2 separate regions of the Homo sapiens genome follow, and region 2 is linked to region 1. Evidence: promoter capture Hi-C in human tissues and cell types (Jung and others, 2019). All regions are on one chromosome and are shown on one strand. The core of a region is centred on a gene start or on the middle of the fragment in contact, and the rest is flanking DNA. Distances in the headings are between cores, read along the strand shown.

Region 1 (7,229 bases), core at 1,377-3,876:
AAAGGTCTTTCAAAGATGAAAACAGAAGTATGCCTATGTACTCTCTTAATATATTCCCAGCATCTTTGGAAGCATAATTCTCTTGGCTCAAAAGTACTAGCAGAAAAGCTTTCCTGGACTACAAAAAGATACACTCTGCTTTCCCGACTGACAAACCTGGAGCTACTCACAAATGTCTTCTTAAGGGCAACACAGGTATATATACCAGGACTACAAATACTGCACTAAAGATTTTGCAATAGTTTTTTTTTTTTATCCTATTCTCATTCCACATATGAATTGAAAAGTATTTTCTAATCTTTAATCACTAAAATAGTTTTGATCTATTCTCTTATTGATGTTCCACTACACTTTTATATATGGTAACCTCATCTGAGAAATTTATTATCTTAACATATCTGGAGAAAAGGAAAATGGAGTACACCTTTACAGCAGTTTATGTCAAAGTGATAGTGAGACAACCATTAATATACGCAACTTCTGAATTAAAAAGGTTAAAAAGCTGCTCTTTTTTTAACCATAAGGCGAAGGAAAAAAATGTAAGGCTACCAGCCGTAACAAATTATTAGATTTTGAATTGCACTACAGTGGATGGCAAAATCGCAAACGTACAAAGTGCCCACCTCATAGTACAATCCTCAATTTGTTTAAGAAGTACCTTGCCCCTACCAACACAACCCAATGAGCGTATTCAGAAAGTAGATCCTAGGGGTAACTGTAAGGCAGAAGGATGACCCCTGAAGGTGCCTCCAAACATCTCCCCAATTCTAACTGGCAAAGAGACCACAGAGCAGAAATTACCGACGACACCACTAGCTTCACACTTAAGATCTATCTCTTGATTAGACTCTTGGAGGACACCTCTGGCCAAGACCGGAGGAGAAAGATGAGGTGGGGGATAAAAGCGGGAGAAGGTGACAGATAGGAGGAGAGCTGGGGAGGACCGAGCGGGTCAAGGGAGACTGCGGGGCTCCAGAAGCAGGAAGGGATGGGGGGAATACCAGGGGTTGAGAATGCCCCCGTAGCGGGACGGCGGCGCCCAGATGAGTGCCGCCGAGAAAAGGGGTGAGGGTACAGGCAAGATTGGGTGGTGCCCACAGTCCCCCCACCACCCCGCCTCACGCCCATCAGCCCCCAGACCCCGCGACGGGGCGGAGCCACTACGCCCGCCACAGCCCTTTCGCGCCGGCACCCGCCCCCTCAGCCTTCGGGTCCCGGGATGGTGGGAGGGGCGGCCCTCGTGGGGCTGGGTGTGTAGCCCGGCCCAAGCCCCAACCAGGAATGCTCTGCTGCGGGCGGGAGGATGAGCGGATGACCCTGCAGCCAGGGACGGGGGTTGGGGGGGGCGCTGGCTGAGGGCGGAGGAAGAGCCTCGGCACAGCCCCCAACGCCCTGGCCGAATCCCGGGCGCCCCTCTGCGGGCAGGCATTGTTGCCCCCGCTCTAGGCTTGCCTTCCCTCCTCTTCCCCCCTCCCCCCGCGTTGCCCCGGGCAACAGCGCCTACCGCCGGCGGCGCGAAACGCACCTACCTAGAACCTGACAAGCCCGAACCCCTCAGACTCCGGAGCCAGTCACCACCCCGCGTCACGGGGGCTGCCACAGCCAATAGGCGCCACTGTCACGAACCTCTGCAACCAATCCCGCTGCACTCCGGTCTCCGGGCACCCTCGAGGCCTCAGCCAATGGGCAAGAGCGGAAGGCGGGCGCAGCCGCCCGGCCCTCAGCCCCCTCCTCCACTACCTCCCAGGAGGCGGGGAGCGGCCGATTGGCCCGGTCCCCGAAGGGGCAGGACTTGGGCCCTAGGCTGGGTGGGCGCACGCTTAGCCCAAGCTGCGGGCCCTGGGAGTGGAGACGCGGAGCTGCGGTCGCCGCTTTCTGGGCTCGCTCACCAGCCCGGGTGGAGTCCCGAGGTCTGCGCGTTTGTGCCGCTCTCCCCGCCTCGGTAACCTGCTCCTCCCTAGCGGGTGTCCTGGGCTGCCGTGGTGAGATGGGGCCGGAGACGGACGAAGGCCTCACAGGAAACTTTGGGAGGCTCGCCTGGCCGCGGCCGGGAAGTGGCCGGACCGGCGATGATAAGCTGAGGCCGCCTGGAAGGGACTACTCGGCGGGTCGGCAGCCGGAAAGGAATTCGGAGAGTGGGGGCGGAGGCGTGATTAAAATGTTAAGTGTGCCCGGAGGGCGCTGGGCGATCCCTGGAGCTGAAATCTCCGGGAAGGGAAGCTGCTTTAGGGCCGCGAGGCCCCCACCCCTAAAATAGGCACTTTTCAGCCTCAGAATTGGTCACTTTTTCCTGTACGTTCCCACGTTTTACTTGTATCTGTTATTAACGTGGATTGCTTTAGAATGGTTTTCAGCAACTCCAGTTTACTCTGAGTCCCTTAAGGACGGGAACTGTCTTTCAATCCTGTACTCCCAGTGCCTGAGCCTGCCTAAAAATGTTAGAAACTCAATGCTGGAATTGTAATGGATGTTTAAAAGCATACAGCAGGTCCTGGGAGTGGCCCCCTATAATAAATTCTTACCTCTTCGGGAGTCTAGAATGCGTGGAGAACCCAAACGGGTCTGCTCTTCAGTGATGGCCGTTTCTGAAGCGTCCTTCACCAAAAGAATTTGGTGAAAAATGAGTAATGTGAACTACAAGATTATTACTAGGTGATCAGTAACAGTAGGATAGGTATGCGTCATTATTCGAGGGTGTGACCCTCCCATGTTCCTGTAGTAGACTTTTTAAGGCGGTGTTATCTTTTGCATTGGTTGAACCACATAGCGTCAATCCGGTATTTCCCCTCCCTCTCAAAAACTGAGTTACATAGGAGCCAAAGAAGAGTGGTGAATATTTTCTCTAAGCAGGGTTATTTATTTAACCGTAGAGAACAGCCCTACACATAAAAAAACATAAATCTTAAGTTGGACTTTTTTTAAGTCTACTGTTTTAAAGCTAAATAAACAAAAACCAACATAAAAATTTTAAATAAGAGGCTTAATTCTCCCTATTGAAAATGGAGGATGAGATTTCCCGTCCCTTTCTCTCCGAGCATTTGTCTTAGAAAACTTAAGTACTTTCTTAATTGTTAAGTACTTTCTCAACTCTTTGAAATGTGTATAAATCCACTTGAGGACTAGATAGGTCTTGTCAACTGTATGCTCAGTCAGGAATGTCTCTGGACCTTTTTTTTTTTTTTTTTTTTGAAATGCTGCACATATCAACGGAGTAGCATCCTTCCCTATCTCCCAGTTTCTGTGAGAGAGTAGGAGCGTAACTTCGGTGAGCAACTTGCTCCGTGTTGCAAAACTACCTTCCGTCATAAAGACAGGAGAAGTTTGTTTTTCCTCTGGATAAAACCAATTAACTAACACAGATGGTCACCCCAATTATTAAGTAAAGTTAATGTCACAAATGTCAGGTCCTCTTACTTGAGGACTAGTTATTGTTCAACTTGAAAACGTGTATGTAATGGGTCGTATATACTTGGCTATACAAAAGGGCAAGATTTCTGTCTTTGCAATCTCTTAGCAAATTGCCTGTGATGTGTATCACAGTCTCGTTTAATGCTTATTCAGTAATAAAAGTGTTTTGTCTACTAACGTTTGTGGAGAGGATTTCTGGGTTGGGAGATTTTGGTTTTTAATTATATTTTTCCAACAATGCCTATACCCAGAATGTTGGGATGACAAAGTTAAGGAAAGTAGTTACTTCGGAGTTTTTAAATTGTTCTCTAAAATGATGGTTAATGTTTCATATGTATTTCATAGTGATTGTTAAATGCACAAACTGTGGTTCTGTGAGTAAACTTCTTAAAATAGAAGTTAATTTTCTGTGAACATCAAATGTTATAGTATATGTAATGTCAATAAGAATGAAATGAATGAAAATTTGGTTAGGTAAGGCCAAAATACAACTTTGGAGACTGCTTCATGACTGAATACCTTTCCCAAGAACCTTAGAATTTCTCCATTTATACAAAGGGAATCAAAATGTAGAAAGATGTGGTTGGTGAATACGTTATTACATATTTGCAGAAAGTAGCTTTCAATAAAGATATGGTAGAAATAGAGCTGTTTGATACACAACATGTGTGTTTGTGTTAAGGAACCCAAATCTAGAAAAATCAGCAAGAATCTTTCCATATCTACAATTGTTCTCTGAGTTCTCACCTATTCATTCCAAAACCTTAAAAGCTGTCTACCATATGCCAGTCATTGTGCTAGGAAATGCAGTTGTGAAAGAATATACTTGAAGTAAATGAATGTGGCAAAAATCTATGCTGCATTTTTGAAGCATACAAAAATATATAGCAAATCCAGTTTCACATTTTTTTCCTCTGTTGGAATTATCACATTGCATTGCAACACATTTAATAAACACTGTGTGTCACCTTAGTATATATTCCATGTTCTCAAATACCAAACTTTGTCTGTTCTAATAGCATTACTTACTGGACAATGAAAATAATAATGTGGACATCAAACCTAGGTGGGTAATAAAAAATGATTGAAAAGTTTTTTACTTTTTTTGATTAGCACCATCCATGCCTCACCCCATCTCTCCACCTCCCTTTTTTCCTGTTTAAAAGTATAGACTGCAAGAGGAATCTTGGTTGTGTGCCATCTTAGTTCAGTAGTTCCAATACTTACCCCTCCCTCCTTTTCTTCATCTGTGTCTCTTTTCTGCCAACTCCTTTGATTTGTGACTCTCTGCTTTCTAATCCACAATTCATACCTATCCACAATTCATAACTAACCATACACACATACTGCTCCTAAAATAGAGATCATGATGAGGTATGCAATATGGAAACCATATCTATCCTTATTCTATACATGCTGCAGTGTTTGTTTTCAGTGGATATATATTTTTTTCTTTTTGAAAATTGTTCTCTTGAATGAATACTGTTCCTAGAGGTCACATTTGTGTGAAATTTTCTTTAGGACTGTTTTGGCTTTCCAAATTTCAAATTTTCAAAATGGCTTAATCATTTCCTTTATTTTTTGAATCTGTGTTAGGAAAATAGCAGAGTAGTTGGAGGGGGAGGGAAGAAAAGAAAATGAAGTAGACTTGAAGGAAGAAAACATCCATTCTGTCTTCAAACTAGATGTCAAATGTATTAACACCATCTCCCAACCATCTTTCCCAGCCAGCGGGTGGCCATCCTAGTACTCTAATTAATATTGGTTCTCCTGCTTCCCTGACCTGCTCTCCATTAAGAAATCCACCAACATTCGTAATCAAGACATGCCTTCTCCAAAATGCCCCTGGATCACTAAAGGCCTGTCCCTTTTTAAGCCATCCTTTTCTCAGATTTTTTTTTTCATTTCTTTTTTAAAACAGAGTCTCACTGTTACCCAGGCTGGAGTGCAGTGGTGTGATCTCAGCTCACTGCAACCTCCGCCTTCCAGGTTCAGGCTGTTCTCCTGCCTCGGCCTCCAGGGATTACAGGCATGTGCCACCACGCTCAGCTAATTTTTGTATTTTTATTAGAGACAAAGTTTCACCAAGTTGGCCAGGCTGGTTTCGAACTCCTGACTTCAAGTGATCCACCTCTCTCGGGCTCCCAAAGTTCTGGGATTACAGGCATAAGCCACCGTGCCCGGCCTTTTCTCAGAATTGACCTGTCCTTTTCCTCATCCCCTTATCCCTGGTTCATTATGGCTTCAGAGTTAACTGAAAAATGTGTGTGCCTGTGTAACAGTGCTGTAATAATGAATTTATATGTGTGATATTATCAGAATCACCTGAGGATCTTTTCAAAAATAGACTCCCAGATTAACTCCCAAAGATTCTCACTTGGAAAGGCAAAAAAGTTCAGGAAAGTCTGTATGTTTGGCATGAGACCAGTGAATTATTCAACATGGTGTGTTGAACTCAGGCATTTATCTCTGCTCTGTCCTGAAAATCCTTGATATAACATAAACACAGGTCCAGGTGCCTCAGCCTCCTGAACAGCTGGGATTACAGGCATGTGCCACCACACTCAGCTAATTTTTGTATTTTTATTAGAAACGGGGTTTCACCAAGTTGGCCAGGCTAGTTTCAAACTCCTGACCTCAAGTGATCCACCTCTCTTGGCCTCCCAAAGTGCCTAGGTCCAGGCCTAGGGATCTCTGAGGGGGCATGGTTGAGAAAAGAGGCTGTAAACAACAGGATTGCTTGACAGTCTGTAAAAGGAGTAGGGAGACCCTACTTGCCCCATCAAGATCACTTCCCCCACCAAGCAGCTAGGTTAAAACACTACTCTACCACAATCCAGAGACAACAAGGTTTACTCCTTGGAGTCATTAGAGAAGCTCAGATCTTGAAGATACAGAGACAGCTGAATATTACCTAGGAGAAAAGTGCCTACTGCACATTGGGGTAAAGGGAATACATGAAAGTCTACATACTAAACTGTGAGACTTATCCTCCAAGCTCCCATAATGACTGTATTCAGGTTCCTGTCCCTCAGAGAAGACCTTAGAGGATTCCTTTTTAGGGAAATTGACTTGCCTGAGGAAAAGTATTTTTATAACTAGTGAGTACTGAGGGTGTGGGGGCGGGGGGATTTTCCAAAATGTACAGATTCCCTGCCTAATCACGTCAAAAATAAGGTCTGCCAATCCTTAAAGAAATGAAAACAGGAGGCTATTTTTCTAAAGAAAAATTCAGAGAGAGAAACGAACTTTGAAAAGTTAAAAAACAAATTAAAATTCAATAGCAGATGATAAAATGAAATTGAGAAGTCTCAAAATAAAAACAAAAAGACAAGCAGTTGAAAAATATGAGGAAAAAAATGTAGGATCAATTCAGGAGATCAAACATCTAATCTATAGAAAGAAAAAAGGAGACGGGGAGAGGGGGCAAAATTAGCAAAGAAAGACATTTCCCCAGTACTGAAGGACCTGAGTTTCCAGATTGAAAAGGATCTGATGAATGGCTTGCAAAATAATGAAAAAGACTCACACAAAAGCACTTAATCCTAAAATGTCAGAACAGCTGAGATTTTTTAAATTCCCTAAATGCTTCAGATAAAATAACAGAATGCAGACAAAAGAACAGACATGAGAACAGAGAAAGGCATTGGACTTCTTAACAATGATACTGAAAACTAGAAGAAAATTGAGCAATATCCTAAATTCCAAGGAGAGATCATTTACAATCCAGAATTCCCAATAAAACCAACAATCAATGAAGTCTAATTGTAGAATAAAAGTATTTTCAGACATGCAAGATCTCAAAAAGTTTTATTTCTATG
Region 2 (7,229 bases), core at 2,085-4,584, 1.1 Mb before region 1:
GGATTGCAGGCGCACGCCTCCACGCCTGACTGGTTTTCGGATTTTTTTGGTGGAGACGGGGTTTTGCCGTGTTGGCCGGGCTGGTCTCCAGCTCCTAACCACGAGTGATCTGCTAGCCTCGGCCTCCTGAGGTGCCGGGATTGCAGATGGAGTCTCGCTCACTCAGTGCTCAATGTTGCCCAGGCTGGAGTGCAGTGGCGTGATCTCGGCTCGCTACAACCTCCACCTCCCAGCCGCCTGCCTTGGCCTCCCAAAGTGCCGAGATTGCAGCCTCTGCCCGGCCGCCACCCTGTCTGGGAAGCGAGGAGCGTCTCTGCCTGGCCGCCCATCGTCTGGGATGTGAGGAGCCCCTCTGCCCGGCCGCCCAGTCTGGGAAGTGAGGAGCGTCTCTTCCCAGCCGCCATCCCCTCTGGGAAGTGAGGAGCGTCTCTGCCCGGCCACCCATCGTCTGAGATATGGGGAGCGCCTCTGCCCCGCCACCCATCGTCTGAGATGTGGGGAGCGCCTCTGCCCTGCCGCCCCATCTGGGATGTGAGGAGCGCCTCTGCCCGGCCGTGACCCCATCTGGGAACTGAGGAGTGTCTGTGCCCGACCGCCACCCCGTCTGGGAGGTGAGGAGCGTCTCTGCCCTGCCGCCCCATCTGAGAAGTGAGGAGCCCCTCCGCCCGGCAGCCGCCCCGTCTGGGAAGTGAGGAGCCCCTCCGCCCGGCAGCCGCCCCCTCCAGGAGGTGGGGGACAGCCCCCACCCAGCCAGCCGCCCCGTCCGGGAGGGAGGTGGGGGGCAGCCCCGGCCCGGCCAGCCGCCCCATCCGGGAGGGAAGTGGGGGGGCCCCTCTGCCCGGCCGCCACCCTGTCTGGGAGGTGTACCTAGCAGCTCATTGAGAACGGGCCATGATGACGATGGCGGTTTTGTCGAGTGGAAGGGGGGGACGTGTGGGGAAAGGAAAGAGAAATCAGATTGTTGCTGTGTCTGTGTAGAAAGAAGTAGACATGGGAGACTCCATTTTGTGCTGTACTAAGAAAAATTCTTCTGCCTTGGGATGCTGTTAATCTATGGCCTTACCCCCAACCCCTTGCTCTCTGAAACATGTGCTGTGTCCACTCAGGGTTAAATGGATTAAGGGCGGTGCAGGATGTGGTTTGTTAAACAGATGCTTGAAGGCAGCATGCTCGTTAAGAGTCATCACCACTCCCTAATCTCAAGTACCCAGGGACACAAAAACTGCAGAAGGCAGCAGGGTCCTCTGCCTAGGAAAACCAGAGACCCTTGTTCACATGTTTATCTGCTGACCTTCCCTCCACTATTGTCCTATGACCCTGCCAAATCCCCCTCTCCGAGAAACACCCAAGAATGATCAATAAATACTAAAAAAAAAAAAAAAAAAAAAAAAAGAAAACTCCTTCCATTACCAGCTACTTATTTATGTGAACAACTTTCCTTTGCACTGATATTTATATAAATAAAAATTAAGAATAAAATCATATATCATTCTAGCAATGAGTGACATTCATCAATGGATACATTATCCATTAGGAATTAAAAAGGTACAACCCACTGAGAAAAATGTTTTCATTAAAATTTATAAAATAAAATTATTAAAATAGGAACATATTTATGTTTTTTGACCAACTGCATACAAATAATAATTTTTATATCTCAATCCAGAAGAAATAAAATACTTAGAGCCTTATAACAGACTTTTAAAACTGTATACATAAATACACACACACACACACACACACACACATGATTTTTGTTTTAGAGAAGTAATGAAAGACTGACCAATAACAAGGCTCTGAACCACAAAAATACTACATTAAGATAACATTCTGTGGAGAAATAGAATGTAATTATAAGGAGAAAATAATGATGTGAAGTTTCCGACAGTTAAAGAAAAAGCTAGTGCAGGCTTTTAAAAAACACATGATTTAGTACCACTGCCCATTGGATATGCTTATTTTTAAAAGTCACCATGTACAATACACCAAAATAACATCCTTTGCAATTATTTAAATGTATAAAGAAAAACTTCAAGTCAATTAAAAAATATATAAGGGACAAAGAGTTCTTCAAATCCTTATAGTGGGGTTCTAAACAACCTTATTTCACACATTGTGATATTCTTTTCCTCCTTTCTGCCTTTCATGTGACATTCTCTAAGACCTAGCCTCTCAGTGACTCACTTCCTTCATTAAATCCTCCCCAATTCCCCCAATCCTTAATGACCATGCTTTGTCTTATAATAGTAAACTATCTAACCCATCTGGCTCACTCACTCTTGTAAGTAGATACAACACTCACTATGGGTAAGGTTCCTTGTATATTTACTCGGTGAATACTCCAAACATCCTCTGAAGCTGATTTTACTACTGTCAACATTTCAGGATGATAAAACCAAAGCCAGGTTGGCAGTAACCTGTGCAAGGTCAAACAGCTGCTAAGTGGCAGACCTAGGATGGGCCTGGGAATAAAACACAAGAGAACTGGCTCTGGAGTCTCAACTCTGAGCCATTACATATCTCCTGTGTTTCCCCCATCCCTGTGCCCTTCACCTGAGTTCAGTGCAACCCACCTTTGTAGGGGATGATGCTTCTTTGCTAAGGAGTTATGGCTTCAACAATCAGCTGCTCTCAAACAGCCCCAAAGATAACCTCTGAGTTCTGAATCTGTGTAACCAGAATGTGCTTGCAGTCCCTTAAAATAACCTTCTCTTTCATGCCTGTAGGGAATGATCAGATTCGTCACATAGCTACTTATTTCAATTTTTAAAAGTTCCAATTAACAGGGAAAAAAATCCTTAGCAGTCAATTGCATATTATGATATTCCAAAAATGTTTTAATTACCTAAGCCTGCCTAGCTATAACTTACTTAATGCTTTTTACTTTTAAATCAAACTAAATATGGAATATAGCTATGGAAAAAAATGAGAGATTGATTGCAAACCATCTTAATGTCTTCATGAATCTTTTTATGAAAATAAAAAGAACTTCAGTGAAGCTCTGAGACCTTGTTTACAAGTGGGGCAGACTCCAGGGATGGAAGCCCCAGATTCAGGCATTCTTAGAAGATGAATTTAATCACTTCTTGGCCTTTTGGCTAAGACCAAGTGTAGAAGATGAATTTAGAAGCAGGGAGTCAGGCACAAGAGATTTTATGTGAAACTAAGTTGTATGAAGACTCTTTGACAGTTATACCTAATTGAACATCTACCTTTTTTATAGATTAAGAAACTGAGTCCCTAAGAAATTAAAGGACAAACCCATACTCCTCTAGTTTGCTTAGAGGCAAAACTAAGGATTTGGATCTCCAAATCCCAATGTGATTCCCTTATAAGAGGGGTCTTCAAAAGTTTCATGGAAAATGCATATCATGAAAAAACTATGCATGGATTTCATCAAAATAAACTCATACTTACTTATTGTAACATGTCTGAACAGGATCTAGTTTGAGCACTAAGAAGGGTGAGACTTGGATTTGATAAGAGCCCCTATCAGAGCAATATAAATTATGCTAAAATTTAAACAAGAACAAACATCAAATTTATGGTGAAGCTTAGGTGGAAGTATGGTGAAATCACTGATGCTTTATGAAAAGTTTATGGAGACAATGGTCCAAGAAAATCAGCACTTTACAAAACAGATAAATTGTTTTAAGAAGGGATGGGACAATGTAGAAGACGAAGACTACACCAATTTTCAAGAAAAAAATTAAGTTTGCTCCTGCTCTAACTGAAGAGAACTAACAATTAGCAGCTTATACAATTCTGACTGAAAAATTAAAGTTGAGGAAACTTTCCACTCAATGGGTGCCAAAACCATTGCGTCCAGATCAGCTGCAGACAAGAGCAGGGCTTTCAATGGAAATTTTAAATAAGTGGGATCAAGATCCTGAAACATTTCTTTGAAGAATTGTAACAGGAGATGGAATACAGCTTTACCAGTATGATTCTGAAGACAAAGTACAATCAAAACAATGGCTACCAAGAGGTGGAAATGGTCCAATCAAAGCAAAAGAAGACTGGCCAAGAGTAAAAGTCATGGCAACAGCTTTTTGGGATGCTCAAGGCATTTGGTGTGTTGACTTTCTGGAGGCCCAAAGAACAGTAATATCTGCTTGTTATGAGAATGTTTTGAGAACATTAGCCAAAGCCTTAGCAGAAAAACACCCAGGAAAGTTTCATCAGAGTTCTTCTCCACCATAATGCTCCTGCTCATTCCTCTCATTAAACAAGGGCAATTTTGTGACAGTTTGAATGGAAAATCATTAGGCAGTCACTTACAGTGCTAATTTGGCTCCTCCTGACTTCTTTTTGTTTCCTAATCTTAAAAAAATATTTAATGGGCACTCATTTTACTTAATAATATAAGTAGACTGAAATGACATGGTTAAATTTCCAGGACCCTCTGTTCCTTAGGGATGGACTGAGTAGCTGGATTCATTGCTTACAAAAGCGTCATGAACTTGATGAAGCTTATGTTGAGAAATAGTTTATATTTTTAATTTTTATCTTTTAATTCCATTTGTCCACAAACTTTTTGAAGTCCCCTAATATGTTTAACTAGATGAAGCTCATTTTGATTCTCTAAAAGCCAAGAGTCAGGTTATAAATCCACTTATGTTTATATATTCAAAATTGCTCAGAGAAAAACTAAGCAACTCTGTTCGATTGCTAAATATGCAAGAAAATCAGTCATTTCAGTCAAAGGAAAGTCTTTCCTTCCATACTTTTTGATGTCAGTTCATTACATTTTACCTCCAGGCTGCTTGTTTTCTTTGAGTAAGATCCATTACATATAATACTTTATAATATGTTGGTGGAAAACAGGGCAGAAGTATTGCATTTAAGATGTTTCCCCTAAGGGTTAAAACATGGTTTACACACACATACATACTAACTCGCTAACAAACACCTGCCTAGGAGAACACAGTCCTTGCGCCAATGAAATGTACACGACATACTCGTTACCCACAGTGACCTAATTCTTCAAAGTAGCTGTTGATATCAGAAACTAGGACACTAAAGTCCAATAATTACAGCTCTGAAGACAAATAAGGCCACAGTTAACAATGTCACTTATTGGTATTATATTATTGCAAGGTATGTACTTTCCTTGTAGGTGCAGTATTAAATAAAACACAAGAGGATACAGGAGCTTCTGTTTGTATTATATTCTATCTTCTAATTACAGATTAACCAAAAAAGCTAAAGTAGCAGCCTATATGGTAATGTTTAAAGCTTCAATTAAATGAAAGATGATTATACTGCAAGAAAAATTAATTCCCACCTCCCTCAACTTTTCCCCCAGAAGAGTGTTATTTTCTACAAATGAAATAAATTGCATTTCATTAAATTATGGGTGCTATAAAATGGATTTATTAAACCTGACATGGGCAAAACAATATATTTCATTAGAAATTTTTTTTCTTTTTTTCTTTTTTTTTTTTTTGAGACAGAGTCTCGCTCTGTTGCCCAGGTTGGAGTACAGTGGCGCTATTTCGGCTCATTGCAACCTCCGCCTCCTGCGTTGAAGCGATTCTCCTGCCTCAGTCTCCCGAATAGCTGGGATTACAGGCACGTGCCACCAAACCCAGCTAACTTTTTGTATTTTTAGTAGAGACGGGGTTTCTTTCACCTTGTTAGCCAGGATGGTCTTGATCTCCTGACCTTGTGATCCGCCTGCCTTGGCCTCCCAAAGTGCTGGAATTACAGGTGTGAGCCACCGTGCCACGCCTTCATTAGAAATTCTGAACTGCTCTGATCTTGTAGAGCTTTTAAGGCTAGTGAGCACAAGATTTCTTCTAATTTAGTATTTTTAGAAACCTTTTGAATGCGATGTCTGAACGATAATGAAAAGGAAAACAGAGTGTTCTTTTATTAGTTTAAAAGATGTTAAGAAAGAGAGAGCCCTTCAACTGCACTTCTGATCATTTTCAGAATCTGGAGAGAATGCAGATAGAGAAACAAAAGTTAAATACCAAACCAAAAACAAAAGTAGGTTGAACTATACGGCCTCTCAACTCTGTTTCAAAATCATTAAGGACCAAAAAGTTTATATAATTTTGGAAATGTTGCTTGTCGTTCTTGATTTTGTTTTCTCCTGAAGCTTAATTTGGGCAATAGTTACTTTGGGGAGAAAAGGGTCAAAGAACAACTAAAGTAGAGACTGAGAAATGTAAGAATATTTTGTCAGGTATGCGTTAGTTTAGTTTTTAAATTGGATTTGTAAGGTTTAACAAAAATAGACACCCAACAAAGACAATCTTTAATACTAACTCATTTTCTGTTTCTTTATTCCTTGTTGCTGAGATTACAAAATCTTTTGTATAATTAACTGGTTTAGTAACCTAATACAATTACAGTATGTAATCATAAAACATTAATAGTCTCTCTCCCCAAACCCTCATTTCTTCCTGGATTGAAAATCTGGTACTAACAACAAATAGGCTCTATTCATTAATACTCATGCAAATAACTGCATCTGGTTGGTTTAAGGGGGACAAAAGTAGCATATATCCAAAACTAGTTTAGTAAATTAAATTCAAGAATAAATATTTTTTGTTATTTTATGCAATACTAGCTAAAAGCCAATCTACAACAGCATGGAAGTTGGCTGACGTTTCCTTTGCATCTAAAATGAAAAGCCACATTTTGTCTATGCATTTTGATCAATCATCCAGGTGTCTGATTTACAGGAGGCCAAAGTTTAGAATGTTAAACAACTTTCCAGTATTTCTTAATAAGGAAGACTTGGCACTAAATAACAGATCCCTGAAGACTGATCACCCTTTCAGGCAGCGTGAACGCTGATAGAGCCAAATACCCTGAAGACTTCGTATATCTATCATGGGCCTTGATTAGTGATTTCATTAAAACCACAATCAGCCAGGATTGAGACAACCCGAGTGTTCAGGCAATGGTATGTGAAAAACAGGAGAGACAGGTGAGTCATGAAGATTACTAAGGAAAGACTCTCTCCACAACCGGGCTTATCTTTTCCCAGAGGGAGATTTGTTAAGAGGAGCTCAAATACAAACACGGGAAGGTATATAGTTTGGAAGAAAGCATTTCAGGTGATTCTGGTATCTCTATTTCCTACCAACTGCTTTCATGTTGAAAAAAAAAATGATCCGGACTAGAATGAAAAAAGATTTACAGGTTACGTCCAGTTTATATATGACGGCTTCTCATTTAATCCAGGCAACTACTGTAAAACTCATCAGTGAGGC

What was found. The method cuts DNA at HindIII sites, captures the fragments that hold promoters and counts their contacts. A contact is called where the count stands out against the background at its distance.
Region 2: a fragment that was not itself captured here is called in contact with the fragment with the promoter of FER in region 1 in 1 of the 25 tissues and cell types used here (dorsolateral prefrontal cortex).

Annotation. Positions count from the first base shown.
Region 1 is chr5:108,743,294-108,750,522 of GRCh38, reverse strand. It overlaps FER (FER tyrosine kinase), which reads right to left and starts at 2,626. Exons shown (of 20, transcript NM_005246.4): 1 at 2,523-2,626. RefSeq lists silencers at 1,080-1,489, 1,620-1,679, 1,760-1,859. The HindIII fragment of the contact is 13,051 bases long and covers 1-7,229 here.
Region 2 is chr5:109,826,325-109,833,553 of GRCh38, reverse strand. The region is part of intron 16 of MAN2A1 (mannosidase alpha class 2A member 1); the gene reads right to left. Among named protein-coding and RNA genes, the nearest start is that of LINC01848, 53 kb to the left of the region's middle. RefSeq lists a silencer at 592-839. The HindIII fragment of the contact is 4,676 bases long and covers 997-5,672 here.